3 separate regions of the Homo sapiens genome follow, and all the other regions are linked to region 1. Evidence: promoter capture Hi-C in 16 types of primary human blood cells and fetal thymus (Javierre and others, 2016). All regions are on one chromosome and are shown on one strand. The core of a region is centred on a gene start or on the middle of the fragment in contact, and the rest is flanking DNA. Distances in the headings are between cores, read along the strand shown. Region 1 holds the start of FAM9C (family with sequence similarity 9 member C). Region 2 has its middle 5.1 kb from the start of TMSB4X. Region 3 has its middle 110 kb from the start of FAM9C.

The links. Contacts are between HindIII fragments. The CHiCAGO score rates a contact against its expected background, and 5 or more counts as called.
Region 2: a contact is called between a fragment that was not itself captured here and the fragment with the promoter of FAM9C in region 1, in 7 of 17 cell types (naive CD4 T cells, non-activated CD4 T cells, activated CD4 T cells and 4 more). The highest score is 14.3, in naive CD4 T cells.
Region 3: a fragment that was not itself captured here is called in contact with the fragment with the promoter of FAM9C in region 1 in 3 of 17 cell types (activated CD4 T cells, non-activated CD4 T cells and naive CD4 T cells); the score reaches 7.0 in activated CD4 T cells.

The regions. Positions count from the first base shown.
Region 1 is chrX:13,043,335-13,046,034 of GRCh38, forward strand. It overlaps FAM9C (family with sequence similarity 9 member C), which reads right to left and starts at 1,286. Exons shown (of 8, transcript NM_174901.6): 1 at 1,206-1,286; 2 at 395-523. The coding sequence starts at 455. LOC105373133 (a long non-coding RNA gene) reads left to right here and starts at 1,399. Exons shown (of 4, transcript NR_171577.1): 1 at 1,399-1,515. The HindIII fragment of the contact is 8,868 bases long and covers 24-2,700 here.
Region 2 is chrX:12,968,616-12,971,315 of GRCh38, forward strand. No RefSeq gene overlaps it. Among named protein-coding and RNA genes, the nearest start is that of TMSB4X, 5.1 kb to the right of the region's middle. The HindIII fragment of the contact is 1,164 bases long and covers 833-1,996 here.
Region 3 is chrX:13,151,753-13,154,465 of GRCh38, forward strand. No RefSeq gene overlaps it. Among named protein-coding and RNA genes, the nearest start is that of FAM9C, 110 kb to the left of the region's middle. RefSeq lists an enhancer at 634-1,233. The HindIII fragment of the contact is 1,970 bases long and covers 402-2,371 here.

The DNA.
Region 1 (2,700 bases), core at 36-2,535:
TTTTTTGGCTCTCCGCCAATTAAAGCTTTACCGCAGAGCTATACATGGAATCGCCGGCTCCTAACCATTTTACGGAGGCATTTTTGGAAGCCCTTCGGGTTCAAGTCCCAGTAAACAACGTTCACAGGTCAGATCCCTTGGATGTCAGGACCGCATCCATGGAGAAGAGCTGCTCTGAGAGCATCTGTAACCCTGCTATGAGGGGGAGCCTCCCACGGGAAGCCTAAGGCCCTTGAGCCTGCTTTGAAAACCTGGGGCATCTCAGCACATGCACGGTGAGCTCCAAAGCCACGAAGGGGCCGGGGGCCTCGGGCTGCCCATGTGCGCCCCGCCCAGAAAGCAGACAGACTGTTGGGCGTGCACCTTCTTCTAGGTCCCCTTGGGCTGTGTTTACCTGCAAGCTCCATTTCCTGGGCGGCCATAACTTGAACCTCCAACTGGTCCTTGGCAGCCATCCTGCTGCCCTTCCTGCCCACGGGCTCCGTGGCTGACTGGCCTGGGAAGCTAGAGGCGACCTCTGAACCTGGTGAGTGCAAAGACACACTAAGGACACTAAGGAAACGAGGCGTGTTAAATGAAAATCATCAGGATCGCAGGTTCAAGGGCGCCCCGGGTCTCCCGTGGGAGCAGGAGGGGACGCGGAGAAGATGCCATCATCCCCTCCTGTCCTGGCCCGTCCAGCGCTTCCCCGGGGCTGGCTGCAGAGCTCGCAGAATTCCGCGGCCTCTGCGGGATTCTTGCAGTGCCCTTGGGACAGAGCCTGGCCCTGCCCCTGGGTTCCCCAGCGACCCAGTGGAGTCGGGAGGGCCGCGGGGTGACACAGGATCTCCCCAGCCATCTCCATGGGAATGAGCCGGTACGCACCTGTTTCTGACAGGGGCAGGGACTGCCCATTCGCCAGCCTGGACGCCCAGGGGACCCCTGGTGACCCCAAGTATCCCGTCCTGATGGGCAGCCAGACAAGACGGACCCACGTTGACCCCCCGACCCCCCCCCAAACGCTGCACACATGCACAGGCCTCCGGGACCCTCCTGGGTCCTGGGGACCACTCAGGCAGCTCCAACTCCCTGCCCTGACCCAGGCCCCAGGCGACAATGCCTGGGCCATTTCCTCACAGATCAGCCTGGCTGCCCCGCCCTTCACACCCTCTTCCCCAAAGGGCCTCTGGCCCGCCTTCCCCGCATCCCCACCGAGGGCGTCTCACCTGAGGGAGCCCTGATGTTGCTCCCTCAGAGGACCTGCAGAGGCTGGCACCGCGAAGCTCCTCCGAGGGCCTGGGTCCTCTGTTCTCACGAGAGCAGCAGCCGCCCCGGCTGCCCGCGCTCCTCGCTGATTGGTCGGCCCAGTGCGCATGCAGGTGGCGGGCGGCATGGGGCCACGCCCCCTGCAGGCACACCCTCCCCCTCACGGACTGTCCATGGCTGCTGTGGACTCATTGGGTGGCTCTCTGAGGCCTCTGTCCCCACGATATTCCAGCTCCTCATCCTGGTGAAGGAAGCAAGGACTCGGGAGTGGTGAGTGCCAGGGGACCCTGCCCTAAGGAATGGAGGCCAAGTGAACGGGGCCTAGGACCTTGCCCCCAGGCTCGTTCCAGCCACTCCTGCCCCTTTGGGTGGAATGGCCATCACCCTGCGGGTGGAGCCCAGGCTCCCTCCCATGTCCTGTGTGCTTCCAACACGCCCAGCTGCATCCTTTTTATCAATGGATTGTGCTTTTATGTTTTATCTAAGAAAATTGTTGACTCCCAGCAGGGGCAGGTAGTTTTCTCCTATCCTACTCCATTCCCTCACACTGGGCATTGCATGATTCTGCAGTGGATATACAAAGTTAAAGACTTTATGTCTAGATTTCTCATGATGTGGTCATTTCTTTTCTTTCATTTTTCTTTTTTCTTTTTTTTTTTTTTTTTGACAGGGTCTTGCTCTGTCACCCAGGCTGGGCTGCAATGGTGTAATCACTACTCACTGTAGCCTCAACTGCCCGCGCTCAAGGGATCCTCCCACCACAGCCTCCCAAGTAGCTGGGACTACAGGCATGTCCCACCATGCCCAGCTAATTTTATTTTATTTATTTATTTATTTTTAGAGACAGAGTCTTACTCTGTCCCCAGGCTGGAGTGCAGTGGCACGATCTCGGCTTCCTGCAACCTCTGCCTCCCTGGTTCAAGCAATTCTCCTGCCTCAGCCTCCCAAGTAGCTGGGACTATAGGCGCACGCCGCCACGCCTGGCTGATTTTTTTTTTTTTTTTTTTGTATTTTAGTAGAGACAGGGTTTCACCGTGTTGCCCAGGCTGGTCTCGAACTCCTGAGCTCAGTCAGTCTGCCCGCCTCAGCCTCCCAAAGTGCTAGGATTACAGGCATGAACCACCGCTCCTGGCCAATTTTGTTTATTTTTTGCAGAGATGAGGTCTCACTATGTTGCCCAGGCTGGTCTGCAACTCCTGGGCTCAAGCGATCCGCCCGCCTCAGCCTCCTAAAGTGCTGGGGTTACAGGCTTGAGCCATCGTGCCCAGCCCGATTATTTCCACAGCTGGGTTGGAAGCCATCTTTCCCTGACAAGGCAGCTCACCTTTATATCTAAGAGTTCTCTATAACCTAAAGAGAATCCCTAATTACTGACACTAAATACCACCAGCTGTCCCCATTTCCCCACAATCTACTTGGTACCCAAATTAGCCAATGAGACATCTTGGGGAATTT
Region 2 (2,700 bases), core at 165-2,664, 75 kb before region 1:
TTGTCTGCTGTGCACAAGCGTGGCCCGGCCCTGGGTCAACAAGAATGTCCCTCAACTGGAAAGAAAATAGAGGGATGAAGAATTCCAATTCTGGCACTGGTGCCACCAGCTCTACTGGTGCCAGCAGTCTGAGAACCTTGGTCTGGTATCCGCACCTCCTCCCAGGTGCTCTGGGAATGGGTAAGGGAACTAAGATGCTGTGGCCCTTAAGCTCTGCCGGTCAAATCAACCTATGATGAAGCTCTATAGCATTGTTAAGAAGCCCATTGTTTTGTACTTTAAAATTTGTTTTCCTCTAGTTTCCTAATAAAAAGTTTTTTTTTTTTTCCTAAATTGGCACCACTTTCTCAGCTCAAGAAGAACAGGGAGTTTCCACACCTGAGAAGTGTTAATGGGCATGACCTGAGAGGGCATTATAGGCAGAGGAAGAGGCACGTGTGTAAGGGCCCATTCCTGGGTCCAGGAAAAGACAGTAGCACTGGAGGCACTCAAAGAATGAGAATCTAAAAAGGGCAGGACTGGCTTCAGAATTTGGGGGACACAGTACAAAATAGAAATGTGGGGTAAGAATTTCAAAATGGCGGCAGCAGTACATTAAGCCAAGCACCAGGGACTTCTGAGCGTAAGGCCCAGTGCAGCTGCACAGCTGTGCACCTGTGAAGCCAGTCCTGGAGAGGCCAAATCGTCAGGGTCAGCCAAGGAAGTTGATCTTGGCCTATGTGGGTTTTCCCCTCAGATTTGAGCCAGTGCTCCATTACCTACACTCCATTTTCCTCACCATAAAGCTATTAACCATCTTCTGCTGATGATCTGGGAACTATATTTTATATAAAGCTTTGGCACCCACAGAAAAAACACATTAAAAAATACAAACACTTGTTACTTGCTAAGCATAATTCTGCTTCACAATGGAATCAAAGGTTTGTCATTTTTAACACAGAAAGCCATTGGGAGTGTGTAATGCCTCCCCTTTCAATATGCTATTGAACCTACTAATTTTTTTAGCCATTGTAATATGAATGACTTCTTAGAAAAATATTGTAGTAAGGCCAGGCTCACGCCTGTAATCCCAGCACTTTGGGAGGCCGAGGCGGGTAGATCACGAGGTCAGGAGATCAAGACCATTCTGGCCAACACGGTGAAACCCTGTCTCTACTAAAATACAAAAAATTAGCTGGGAGTGGTGGTGTGCACCTGTAACCCCAGCTACTCAGGAGGCTGAGGCAGGGGAATCGCTTGAACCTGGGAGGCGGGGGTTGCAGTAAGCCGAGATTGCACCACTGCACTCCAGCCTGGTGACAGAGCAAGACTCCGACTCAAAAAAAAAAAAAAAGAAAAGAAAAAGAAAAAGAAAAATATTTAAGTAGTGAAAAGCTGAGGAAAACTACTAACGTTCAGGATACAAATTCTCTTTATTGCCAGTGCCTTGGCCATGCAGGAGGAGGAAAAAGAGCAGATTGAATTTCTGTAATGAAATAATTTGAAAATTGGGGCAGGGAAAATTTTAATGTATATGACATTATTACGATATCTATGTTTAAATGTCTTCATGATGTAGGCTGGGTGCGGTGGCTCACGCCTGTAATCCCAGCACTTTGGGAGGCCGAGGTGGAAGGATTGCTTGAGCCCAGGAACTTGAGACCAGCCTGGGCAACATAGAGAGAACCTGTTTCTTAAAAAAAAAAAAGAAAAAAAGAGAAAAAACATCTACATGATGAAAAAGCTAGACAGCTGATTGAGACAGAATATAACTTTACCCTTATCTGGCGTATGGAACAAAGCCTTTAAAAGGCCTTAGGATTCTAGAGAAGAGTAGTGTTTAAATGAGGCGGCTTCTGAGCCAGCCAGTCTGAGTTCAAATCCTGCCTTTGGCTTTCGTTGTGTTTTCTTGGGGAAGTTATTTAATCCCTCTAGAATTCTCTCATCTGCAAAATGAGGAGAATAATGGTGCCACTGTCATAGGATTGTGTGAGGATTCGGGAAATACTACATGGAAAGCTTCCCAGTATATGGAAAGCACTCAGAAAGCACTTGCTGTTATTACTGCTATGGGTACAGCCATGATTGTTACTATCATTATTCTACAACCTGGCCCCTGCCTGGTTCCCAGCGTTATTTCCTGTCACTTTCTCTCATTTTACGCAAGTGCCTGCCAAGCTAAGCTACTCATTGCCCCCTGCGTTAACTCGAAGATTCTCTGCTTCCGTATTGTTCCCTGGCTGTGTGGAGGCTGAGTAACCACTTGGAGGGGATGTTGTAGAGGAAAATTCAAGCCACAGAAGGGAAACTGGGTTGAATGAGATCCCCTTTTACATTTCTTTTGGCTCTAAAGTTTCCATCGGATCAATAAAGCAAACAGGACAATTAGCAGCACGGCACTCAGCACTGAGCACAGGCGAGGGTGTTCTTTCACTCCTCTTTGCTTTCCTGCCACCCCCTGCTCGCCTTCCTCTTTGCACCATGTGGGTCCGCTCTGGGTGGGAGTCCTGGAGAAAGATACTTCAACTAAAGATAAGGCAGAGATAGGCCTCGGTGGAAAGACTTGGTAGACAGACCTGGGCATTTGATTAAGAGCAAATTGCTTAAATTCTCGGAGCCTCAATTTCTTTAGTAGTAAAATGGGGATATTAGTACTCACTCCATAGGGTAAGAATGGAATCAGATATTGTTTAAAAGGGCTTATAGCTGAGGTTACAAGAT
Region 3 (2,713 bases), core at 137-2,636, 110 kb after region 1:
AAAATATGTTCTGAGGATAGTTTTCCTGACTGAGAAAATGAATTTCCATTTAACATGACTGTTAACTGAAGAATTCCAGTCTTAGGCTCATATACCCAGCTGTGGTAAATAAAAATTTCCCTAGTTTTGGGGTGTGTAAAGAAAACACGGCTTGTCTCCAGTGGCTACCAAAAGGAAACAAACACAAAAAGAAATGGAAGCTGTGAAATGCTAACATCTCTTCAGAGACTTGGAGCCATTTCCAGAACCCTGGGCTTCTCTTTGTAGTCTGGTTGCTATGGCTCTGTCTTCGTTACTGCAAAATACTGTCTGATATACTCTGGTAAGTGGTTACATGAAAGAGTCGATAACCACAGAGGTGCTGGCAGATCCCTATCTTTCAAGCTCTCCTCTCAGCCTGAAGCTTTCTGACGAAGTCTTTCCTCCCAGCTTCTCATTGCTTCTGGAGCTGCCAGTAATTAAAGAGACACAGGAAGAAATAAAAGAAAATGCCACTCACAAGGAATCAAAGAAAACAACACTCAGAACACATCAGCCAGTTCTCTGCTGAAGCTCTCAGGGGCTCTGTGTGGCAGGAATACCAAGCTGAAGGTGGGCTGAATTTTGATTTAAAAGGAGAAGGGTAGACCTTGCAAATATTCTGCCTGGATAGTACACATTGTGGGTTAAGATGTGTCAGTGAGAGTCTCCAGTCTTCAGATGCAAGTTGAGCTCGTTATGATCGACGTGAATCTGCATGTTAAAAGGAGACTCGTTGCTGTGGGCAGTAATGCAGGGAGCTTCTTGAAATTGCCTTTGCGAGAAAAGTTGTAACGGTGAGCTGAGCTAACCCACCCCACAGTTTGCCTTTCCTTTAATTATTCCTGGGCTTTTGGGCCAAGCTGATTTTGAGAGACATTTAGGCTGCAGTTTAAATGATAAAAAGCCTCCCGTAAAACTCAATCGCTTTTGTAACGCTAATGGAAGGCCATCAGGCTGCGGGGAGGAGAGCAGCCTGGGTTCTGCTAAGATGCAAACATGAACAATTGCCAGCCATTATTCCAGAGGTTATAAGATATGCAATTTCCCCAATTACTCCTACAAATAACATCACTATTGTAGAACTTAAGATTGGCCTTTTGAGATATCTTTTCAGGCTTTTTGTATGTCTGACACCCATGGCTCCACCTGGACCCTCCAACTCTGCTCCTGTGGTCCCACCCAGAAGCAATTCAGCACACAGGAGAACAGGTGCAACTGGCTATGATTTCATCTCTGCACCAACCAACCAGCTGCAAGCCTAGCCACCCCCACCCCTTCCCCCAAAGATGCCTTTGAGAAACGCCTAACTTGTGAGCTTTGGAGAATGATTTGAGTACTAACTCCATCTCCCATGTGGTGTGGCCAGCCTGTCTATTAAACTCTTCCTTTGCTACAATACCATGGTCTTTCTTTGTGTAGGGGGCAGGAAAGAACCCCTTGGGCCATTACATTCTAAGAAAACATTAAGAGTATCATGGCTAACCACTTTCTTCTCTCTGCAGCCCCTCCTCATCTATGAATGGATCTGTGACCATTTCTGCTTTGGCCTCCTTCTGAAACCACCTTTGCAAACATCATGACAGTGACAGAAGTCTAGCATGGCTGGCTCCATCTTGCTTCTAGCCTCACAATCTGGCTATTCTTGCTCATTCCTGGGCATAGGCCAAGCTAACCGTGGGAGGAATTTAGTTTACAGTTTAACATTGAAGCAAGGATGATAATAGTTCCTCCCAGAACCCCTCCTTGTTCAGGGACTAAAACTACCTTTGTAAAACTAATGAAGGGCCACAAGATTAGGATTATGGGAGGGGCCTGAATTCTGCTGAGATGTAGGTGTAAACGATAACCAGCCATTGTTCCCTAACTTGCTTTCTATTTTATTTTTATTTTTTAAAGAGACAGGGTCTCACTATATTGCTCAGGCTGGCCTTGAACTGCTGAGTTCAAGAGATCCTCCCACCTCAGCCTCCCAAAGTGTTGGAATTACAGATGTAAGCCACCATGCCCAGCCTCCTAGCTTGCTTCTGTAATCCCTTACTACTCAGGAGTCATGTGGCAGAAATTATAAGATTTGTGACTTCCCCAATTGCTCCCGTAGATAACATCACTAGTGTAAAACCTAAGATTGGTCTTTTGAGATGGTTTTCAGATTTTTGCATTATGGCAACCAACTGACTCTACCCCGACCCATGACTCATGACTCAACTAATCCCGTGGCCCCCACCCAGAGGCTGAGTCAGTGCACAAGGATTGTTTTCCACAACCCTACAATTTCATTCCTAACCAATCAGCACACCCAATCCCTAGCCCCCTGCCTGCCAAAATATCCTTGAAAAAACCCTACCCTCCAAGCTTTTGGGGAAGCTGATTTGAGTACTAAACTCTTGTTCTTCCACTTAGCTGGCCCTGTGATTATTAAACTCTTTCTCTACTGCAGTACCACTATCTCAGTGAATTGGTTTTATCTGCGCAGCGGGCCAGAAGAACCCATCAGGTGATTGTACTTCCCTTCCTTCCCAGTGGAAAAGGGGTTCCTCATCCAGTCCAGGGGCCCCCAAGAAGCTTCCCTCTTTTTGTAAATCAGCTTTATTGTAGTATAATTTATGTACAGTAAATGGTATCCATTTAAAGTATACAATTTGTTGAGTTTTGACACCCATGAAACCGCTGCCATAATCAAGACACAATATTT